Linked DNA regions of Homo sapiens: regions 1 and 3 are each linked to region 2. Evidence: promoter capture Hi-C in human tissues and cell types (Jung and others, 2019). All regions are on one chromosome and are shown on one strand. Each heading gives the region's core, a stretch centred on a gene start or on the middle of the fragment in contact. The rest is flanking DNA. Distances are from core to core; before and after follow the strand shown. Region 1 overlaps DPYSL3 (dihydropyrimidinase like 3). Region 2 holds the start of DPYSL3 (dihydropyrimidinase like 3). Region 3 overlaps JAKMIP2-AS1 (JAKMIP2 antisense RNA 1).

What was found. The method cuts DNA at HindIII sites, captures the fragments that hold promoters and counts their contacts. A contact is called where the count stands out against the background at its distance.
Region 1: a fragment that was not itself captured here is called in contact with the fragment with the promoter of DPYSL3 in region 2 in 5 of the 25 tissues and cell types used here (H1 embryonic stem cells, IMR-90 fibroblasts, bladder and 2 more).
Region 3: a contact is called between a fragment that was not itself captured here and the fragment with the promoter of DPYSL3 in region 2, in 3 of the 25 tissues and cell types used here (H1 embryonic stem cells, aorta and thymus).

The regions. Positions count from the first base shown.
Region 1 is chr5:147,434,571-147,437,685 of GRCh38, forward strand. All of the region lies in intron 1 of DPYSL3 (dihydropyrimidinase like 3), which reads right to left. Among named protein-coding and RNA genes, the nearest start is that of DPYSL3, 74 kb to the right of the region's middle. The HindIII fragment of the contact is 4,116 bases long and covers 1-3,115 here.
Region 2 is chr5:147,508,377-147,511,593 of GRCh38, forward strand. It overlaps DPYSL3 (dihydropyrimidinase like 3), which reads right to left and starts at 1,692. Exons shown (of 14, transcript NM_001197294.2): 1 at 1,102-1,692. The coding sequence starts at 1,482. The HindIII fragment of the contact is 5,398 bases long and covers 1-3,217 here.
Region 3 is chr5:147,573,029-147,576,165 of GRCh38, forward strand. All of the region lies in intron 1 of JAKMIP2-AS1 (JAKMIP2 antisense RNA 1), which reads left to right. Among named protein-coding and RNA genes, the nearest start is that of JAKMIP2-AS1, 15 kb to the left of the region's middle. The HindIII fragment of the contact is 3,633 bases long and covers 1-3,137 here.

The DNA of each region.
Region 1 (3,115 bases), core at 549-3,048, 74 kb before region 2:
ATGCTAGTGTAACTACTAGCCATGAAGTTGAATACAGAAGGTGAATAGAGAAGTAAAGATAAAACAGTTAGAAAAGTAAGCCAGGATCGCAAATAGTAATGTGACCTAAAATGACGAAGAGTAAAACTATAGAAAGACAGTAAAATGATCAGTGGTTACCAGTTGGGGCGGGGGGTAGGGGAACAGGGAGGGGATGAACTGGTGAGTAAGCGGAGCACTGAAGTGGCTCAGAGCAGTGAAACTGTCCTAGACGATACTGCAATGATAGACACATGACATTTTTCATTTGTTAAGACCCGTAGAACTACTCAACAATGAGTGAGTTCTAATGTAAACTGGACTCTCTTCAATGTATCAATATTGGTTCATCTATTGTAACAAGCATACCACACCAATGTAAGGTGTTAATAAGAGAGGAAACTTGGGGGTGAGGAGGGAGTGAGAAAGAGTCTATGGGAGCTCTCTGTACTTTGTGCACAATTTTTCTGTAAGCCTAAAACTTCTCTAAAAAACAAAGTCTATTAATTAAGAAAGGTGGGGGGAAGAGAGAGAGAGAGGAGAGAGGCAGGCAGAAAAATCTTTTGTCTGGCAGAGATTAAAGGATCCACAGAGGCCTTGCCTAAGTGAATCTAAGGTAAATAGCTGATTTGTACACGTGGGTATGGCCAACGGCAATTATGATCACAGCGTGTTACAATAATTCATAATTACCATTTACTGAAAACTTCTTATTTGCTGAAAACAGGTAGAAGCTTTAAGTACATGTTGTTCAATCAATCTTCAAGTGCTATGAATTATATGCTACTGTCATTCCTATTGCATTGATGAAGACATGGAAGCTTAGGGAGGTTAGCTCATGGTCCAATATTACACAACCAATCATTGGGAGAACCAATGGTATCGATGCAAGAAATGCATCTCTATAAGAGATTGTGGAGTTAGGCACCCTCCTTCTTCCAAAGCTTAAGATACTGGAATAAGGGATGCAAACGGCTGCCAACTAGGAAGTTTGACCTTTACTATGTAGTAGCCCTAGAAGGATCTTCAAAAAATAAGTAAAATAGTCAATCATAGGGTCAAAAAATCAAGCTGACAGAGGCCCATGCTGGAGATAAAGGAAGGAAAAACTTAGAAACAGCAAGTGGCAGGGGGAAAAAAAACAAAACAAAATAAGAAAAGACCTTTAGCATGCTGGGTGCCAGCAGGAAACAGATAAAATTATTAAGAAGTTATTAAGGAGAATTTAACAAAGAAATTACTTAACAAAGTGTGGGCAGTGTTTAGGGCAAATAAATGGATATGCAGCATCCAGGGCCTACCAGCATCAGGGAGCCATTGCCAAGGCCAGAAGAGGGAAAGGGGAGGGAGTGGTTATTGGAAGTGGAGACTGTAGCTGTATGGAGAGGGCTGCCTGGCAGGAGCCGTAACCTTCAGCAGAGACATGCAGCTGCCCCACAATGACCTAGTGATAGGAAGGAATCAGGGGAAAATACCCCGACTTCATTGTTCACTCTCCCTCTAATCTCCTATTGGTGCCCTAAGAGCTAAATGCAACCAGAAGCCCAAGGGCAAAGAAACCAACTAAGGCACACCATACACGGAGTATGGAGCAGGGTAGACAAAGGTGGAGAGGATATCTGGGGATGCAAGCAGGAAATACCCAGCCCAGGCCCTGAATAGCCAACAATGGGATGTGATTTAATAAACTATGATATCACCACAAATATGGATTATGATTATTATGGCCACCTTTAAATCTATATCATGAACTGAAGAAATATCTAAAATAAGTAAGTTCTGGAGCAATATGCAAAATATGATGTAGTTCTTGTCAAAGCAAACAAAAAATGCTGTATGTAAATATGTTTATTATATTTTTGTGTGAGCTGATCTGGAAGAAAGTTCCAGAAGGATGCACATCATATTATTAACATTGGATGTTGTAGAAGGAAAGGATGCAGAGAGAGGTTGTAGGGGTCCTTTTAAACTTTTTCTTCTCTCTCTTCTATTTATTTACATTATTTCTCTAGTTGCATATGCGTAATGTACTTTATAACTTTTAAAAGGAACTTAATAAAGAAAATTATAAAAAAGTAAAAGAATGTGGTAATTGCTGTGGTCCAGTGTGACAGGAAGAATATGGATTAGAAAATGCAATGGCATACTGCAGAAGAAAGTGTCAATCAACTAAGTAACTGAAGAGGAAGGGAAAGTGACGCAGATGCAGACGTGCCAAACCAGACTGAGTTTTAAAGCAGCATGTCTACAGAGGACCCATTAATAGACACAGGAAACAGAAAAAGGACTAACAAAATTGAAGTGTAAGACTAAGAATAATTTTGAGGTACTGGTCAACCATACAGCAATGTAGCAGGTCACTGAAATGGTGGCCTGGGATTTAAGAGAAAGGTCAGGTGTTAGTGGACGGGCTTGAGTTAATGCCACGCTGAAAATGGCTGTGCCAACTGAAAGGCAGAAAAGAAGGGTGGAAAGATCCCTAGAATGGGAGTCGGGAGCCAAGGATTCCGGTCAAAGTTCTGTGATCCCCTTCGCCTTTCCAAGAGGCTGTGCCGTTAATGGTACCCAGCTCCCTCTTAAGAAGCAGCTCTCTCTTTTCATCTTTTCTGACTGACAGCTGGCTTTGACAGGGCCTTTACAATGACAAAGACGTCGAGTGAATTCCCACCCTATTGCTTCTCAGAAACAAGAAACCTTTTCACCAAATCTGAAAGCCCGCCAAAATGCAACTCCCAGAGGAGGAATGCGGGCTCAGGCCTTGGAATGTGTGAGAAGCACCTTCAAATGACAGGCAATAGCTCCCCATCTATTTGTGGAGGCCACAGGGATTCTTCTTCAAGTCTGACATTGTATTTTTAAAGCTTGTGGGAGCTTCTTGGGGATTGTGGTCATAAGCACACAACCACTGGCTTATGTAACTTCCTAAAACTGTCCGTGGTGTGCAAGTCTAACAGAACACTCAGCTGTGGTGCTCCAGTCACACCAGGCGGCCATGAAGAGGGCCCCATGGAGAGTGTGGAAGGAAGGAATTGTCTCAAAGACCACAGATGTCTTCCAGTTTGCTCTGCCTTGTAGTCCAGACCTCAAAGATTAGGTC
Region 2 (3,217 bases), core at 442-2,941:
TAATTGCTCTGAGGCAGACATTTCCATTTCAGGTTGTTATTCCTAACCATATTAGTGCAGAATAATACATGCGGATGGATTTTGCGGCCATTACCTAGACAAGGGTGAGGGCATCTGATTATTATTATTCCCCAACTGAAAGCTTCAGTTTGAACTCTGAAGTCTCCAGCCCTGCCAGGCCCTGCATTTTCTGAACTACATCTCTGAGTCTCTGTGAAATAGACACATAAATCAGGGCAAGCTAGATTTCAATGCCATCCCTTCAGTCAGTTCAGTGTGACATAAGTTTCTCAAAAATACACATACAGAAGAAATTGGCTTTGGCACATTTAAGAGCAGCAGGGAATTTGCATCTCATGCTAGTTTAATGTGCACTCTTAATACTCTCGTCTATTTTCTAAAATATAATGCTATTCTTGCAGAGGCAGCTGGACCCCTGTAATACCCAGTCTTGTGCCAAGCTATGTACACAAATACACTCTTTACAAACACAGATGTGAAATGCCGTGCTAAGACACAAGCGAGGCATAGAGAGAGATTCGCGTGTTTAGTCTAGAGGCTCCACACCCAAAAGTTTCAGGGACAGAGCTGATGTTTGAAGACTGAGAGGGGAGACCGCCCCTCCAGTACTTTCATCCGGGCACTATGGAGATGACCCCCATATTCCCAGCATCACTTTGCCCTCTGCCGTGGTGACCCGGGTTGAGATTTAATCTAGGGCCAGAGGGGGGCAAGACAATTGTGCTGTTGGCTACTAGAGAGAAGAGCTGGAAATCACTAAGCCTTCCCGGGCTGACACACCCACCCAGACCGGATGGCCCAGGAGTGCGGCGAGGAGGCAGGGGCAAAGGACGCGGCTCCAGGCAGGGGAACCCGGGCATCCCTTCCGCGCTTGCACGAAGATGCTGCAAGTGGCGACACGCGCGAATCCAGGGTCTGGGCTAGGAAGTCGCGCTACGCTCAGTGGAGGATGACCCTTTCCTCCTCCTTGTCCCCCAGCCCCGTGCAAAGTGAGCTGGAGAAAGTTGTGCCCGGGCCATGGCGGCCAGGGCTGGAGAAAGGAACGAAGGCAAGGAGGGAAGTGACCCGGGGCCCCCTTACCTTGTCCTTGGGGCCGAGGTTCTGCAACACCTCTTTGCCGGTGGCGCTCCGGATCTCTACCCCGGCGGGGGCGGGGGAGGCGGGCGCGGGCTCCCTGCTCTCTTCCCGGCCTTGGCCCCTGCGCGGGGTGTCCCCCTCGATCCCGGGCCGACTCCCCGATCCTCGGTCGCTGCCCTGGCCGCTCCGAGGAGTCTTCGCGCCCCGCTGCCCCACGCTGAGGGCATCGAAATCCAGCGTCTTGCTCTCGAAGGCGCCCTCCACGTTGCAGAACATGCCGCCGTATTTCTGCCGCGGGACCTGGTCCGTGGTGCCCGGCCTGGCCAGGTACACGGGCAGATCGTCTTCGTGGGAGCTGTCCCAGCCCCTCCGGCCCGAGGCCATGGTTCAAGCACGAAAGCGGCCCGCGGGTTTTTCTTCCCCAGAGGCGGAAAGGGCAGCCGCCGGCAGCGTGCGCCGAGCCACAGTGACTGTGGCGGGAGGAGGCGCCTGAGCCTTCGCGCCAGAGGCGGCAGTGCTGCTCCGATTCCTGCTTGTCCCTAGCGAGCCAGCGAGCCACACAGCCAGCTAGCGCGCGGAGCAGGGGCCCAGAGTAGCGCCGCGCTTGGCTCACTCGCTGGACCTCTCGCCCGGCCGCACCTCCTCACGCACCCCCAACCCTAACGTGGCCTCCCGGGCTGACGCAGCGTCGGTGCCCATCACAATCACAAACCAAACTTGGCGCGCGCGCACACGCACACACAGGCGCACACTGCCCGCTCGCGCAACAGCCTTGCCTCACACACTTTCGCGCAATTTAGACGTCTTAGAAATGTTCACACTCCAGCACTTGACTGCTTCACCCACACTAACTCCCTAGTTTGCCTCACAAACACAAAGCTTTCTGACGTCCCTCGTGCACAAAAACCCAGCTGACCCAGGTGGATTCATCTCAAAGCCAAGTCCTGATTTACAACTAACACATACAAACTCAAATTTACGACAGACTCACAATCCTACCCGGAACCCCGGACTTGCCTCATCCTGATCTTTAGGATGACACTCATAACTACACCCAGTTCTAGAATCTGCCTTGCAAACCCACACTCTCACATGAAGTCCTGAATTGGCTTACACACACAACACAAACACACACTGAGAGAGAAGCCCTCTTACTTCATTGAGAGTCACAAAAGCCCTTTGGCTCACATAAGCCCTTTCTTAGCTTCTATATAATATCCTAGTTTGCTTTTTACCACCCCTAATTTGCCTCATTTCAGATCACACACACACACACACACACACACACACATTCTTAGGTTTTGCCTTGCAAAGCACTCTTCATTGATGCTCTGTCCCTCATACAACAAACCCCAGATTTTAATCTCACACACTGACACAAGTCCAGGTTTACCTCAGTCGGAACCGACACTTAGATTCACACCTAAGCCCAGATTTACTTCAAAAATCACACAACCAAAGACTTTGCTTTTCATGTTACCTCAGATGTATGCAGACTTTACTTATGTACATCTGTGCTTTCATAACCTCATTCTCTTCCCCACGTCCACCCACGTATACTCTGACGCCGACTCTGCCACATAAACAGAACCTGCAAACTACATACCTTACATCATATCTGCACACACCACCTAAACCCAAAACCTGTTGTGCCGGATTTAACTGTGCTCCCTCTCAGAAAGTCACCCATTTATTTATTTAGTCAACCAACATAAATCAGGTACCCACTATGGCTTTCACAAGATGCTGGAGCAACAGTGTCGAACAAGAGAGATCGGCCTGTCCTCACCAAGAATGTAGTCTATTACCACCCATCTAGGTAGCACAGCCGTTCACTGTTCTGCTCAACTTACAGAACTTTGTTTATTTTGTGAACTAAACACTCCCCCTCCCAAGTATGGACACATACATGCTAAGCTCCATAAAGGCAGAGATCTGGTCTGTTCAGTTCACCTTTGTATATCTTGTGCCCAGAACATCTACAGGCACTTGATACATTCTTTTTGAACAAATGGAGGATAACAATAACAACGACAGCAGCACCAGAAAATGTTTATGGAGTTATTGCTATGTGCCAGTCATTATTATAATTGTTTCACATATATTAACTCATTTAATG
Region 3 (3,137 bases), core at 543-3,042, 65 kb after region 2:
CACTCAAAGGAGGTAAAAACTGTGCTGAGTTTTTAAAATTATAAAGCTGGCTAGATCTGTAATGTGGTTTAGCTCATTACTGAAATATTTAGCAAAGTAAACCCTGTGACAAAACATCAAAATTAACATTTTAATTTTTTATTAATACTGTATTATCATATTGGTGGCCTCGAGATATAGATAAAAAGAGGACAGTGTGGTCAAAAGCTTCAGCTAATGAAACAGAGCAGGAAGTCAAATATAAAAAGCCTAGTTGTCAATCAAGGTTCTAAGGCATTTTGAAGTTAATGTTCAGTGTTTTTGCATTTTTTTTTTCTGAAACCTTAGTGGGCTGAATCTCTCAATGCCTCCTTTCTTAGCGCTATGGTCTCTGAGAACAGGAAATACAATAACTCAACTTATAATTTTAAAGGCCTTAATTTTAGAGCCAAAACATGGTCCCACAGGCTCTGGTCTCATCATCTATGAAATCTGATACTCCACTGTATGGGTATAAATATATATGTGTGTGTGTGTGATTTGAAGTTTACTGATTCTTACAGTTTAACATCAGGTTCTTCTGTTAAGTTCAATTAAATTATTTACATGTATTTAAAAATAGAATCTATTTTGGAACTCTATTTCTCTAAAAGTAGCATCAACTCTTTCCTTTTCTATCTGTATATGTACACCAAAAGATGTCTAGAATGCTGTCCACCTAATGATAATCACGATTATTTCTGTGTGGTATGATTTTGGGGCAAACTTTGCTGTCATCTACGTATTTTCCTATATTGCTTGAGGGTTTTTTAATATAGCTTTTTTATCTTAAAATAGTTATAAACTCTACAGTAAGTTGGCAAATTAGCACATAGTGCACCATACCTTTCACTTAGCGTCTCCCTATGGTAACAACTTAAGTAACTAGAATAAAATGGCAAAATCAGGAAACTGCCATTGGGACCGTGCAAACTGCAGACTGTATTCAGATTTCACCAGTTTTTCCATGCACTCATTTGTGCTGTTACTCCACCTTAACTCTACGTATTCCTTTGTAGCCCTGCTATGAGGGGTGGGGTTGGGTAGGGAGCATATTGAACTTGACAGGGATAAACACACACCTGCTTTGAAAAGTCACACTGTTTGTCATTGGCCGGAAGTAACCTCATCCTTCCAAAATTATTGGTAGTGATGTGCCTGAGCTGGCTTGTGTCAGTCCTGGAGGCCATTTGTTAAATATTTAGGAATTTTGTCATTGGTAGTTTGAAATCAGCTATGGTGAAATAATTACCTTGAAGAAATCTGCAGAGTATAAATCAAGCCCCCCACCCTCGCTTCCTAGAGCCTGTTTACCAACACAATACTCTTGGTACGACATTTACAGTTGTCCTGGTTAATCCCCGTTCCCCATGTGCCTCTCATCTGGGTCTCTCAGTAAAACATATTTCCCTAATAGGACATTCCCTTATCATACATGATGCTTCTTTTCCTTTCAGGGTTTCCAAATAGAGCAGCTAAATAATTTAGTAAAAAGGCAAGGCTTTCTGTTAATGGATTCTAATATCTTATTATATGATCCTTCTGGGTAAATTACCTCCATTTTGCCCAGGGACTTCCTGGAATATAGATACATATTTAACTCCAAGACGACATTTGAGGATGTGTGTGTTTGCGGGGGTAGCGATTGGGTAGAATCCTTTCAGCCCCCCTCAGTTCCCACCAAGCAGGCAGCTGTTGATCTCACGCACACTCAGGGGCCTTCACTCCTCCTGGTCCTGTCCCTTTCCTTCTAGAAATGCCAGAAATGCAGGGACTCACTGAGTCCCTTCTGTTGAGGCAGATCACGGGAACTGGGAAAAGAACCTTGGTTTAAACTTGAAAAGGAAGTAAAAAACCTTAGGGATTCTTTGTGGATAACAGTGTGGATTCATAACCTTCTAGGTAGTGAAGCGCCATATCCTTTTGTCTTTAGTGAGAAAGACAGAGCAGTGAAAAAGAGGGAAGTGAGCTATGTTCCCTCTTAATCCTTAGTACATTAATTGGAACAGAAAAAGAGGAAAACAAAAACAAGACAAAACGTTCCTATTCTCTATCCTCCCCTTGTCTAAAAGTGTTGCTAACATTTAATAGATGTGTAGATTAGCTCTTACATGTGTAGCCTATTCCAGGTGTAGCCTGTTCCAGGTGCATGGAGGAATATTAAAGACATTTATTAAAGACATTTATATTAAAGACATTTATGTCTGGAGGCAAAATTACACTGGCAACATAATAGTGAAATGAACATAAGCTTTGGAATCAGATCTGAATTCGGATTCTGACTTGGCCACTTATTGGCTGAATAAATCTGGGCAAGTTACTAAACTTTTATTTGTTACTTTCTTCCTTAGTAAATGCAAATTTGTTAGGAGCATGAATGATAATGATTGGGCTTCTACCCTGTACCAGGCATTTTATGAATATTTTAAATAATGTTTTAATTTAATTTAATTCAATCCTTACCATAAGCCCAGATTATATTATTTTTATTTTATGGATGAGAAAATTGAGCCTCAGAGATGTTCATTAAGTCGATCAAGGTCATATAGCTAATGGGGAACAGAGCTGGGATTCAAACATAGTATTCTAAAGCCTATATCCTCAGATCACTCTAGAGGCCATATAGCCAATTTAAAAATGCATGAAAAATTTTTATACATCGTAGGGACTCAGTCATTGTTATATTGTTATTTATTTAATATATAGTGAATTATATGTTAGTTATATTGATAATTATATTAAGATATATTATATAGGATTATATAATAAACTTTAATTATTAGTAGTAGTATTATTTTTTGAGACTGGGTCTCACTCTGTCACCCAGGCTGGAGTGCAGTGGTACGATCTTGGCCCACTGCAACCTCTATCTCCCGGGTTCAACTGATTCTCGGGCCTCAGCCTCCCAGATAGCTGGGACTACAGGTGCCCACCACCATGCCCAGCTAATTTTTGTGTTTTTAGTATAGACAGGGGTTTCACCAGGTTGGCCAGGCTGGTCTCGAACTCCTGACCTCAAGCGATCCACCTGCCTCGACCTCCCAAAGTGCTGGGATTACAGGTGTGAGCTACCGTGCCTGGCCGGATTATATAATATAAATTAATTTTATTATAATATA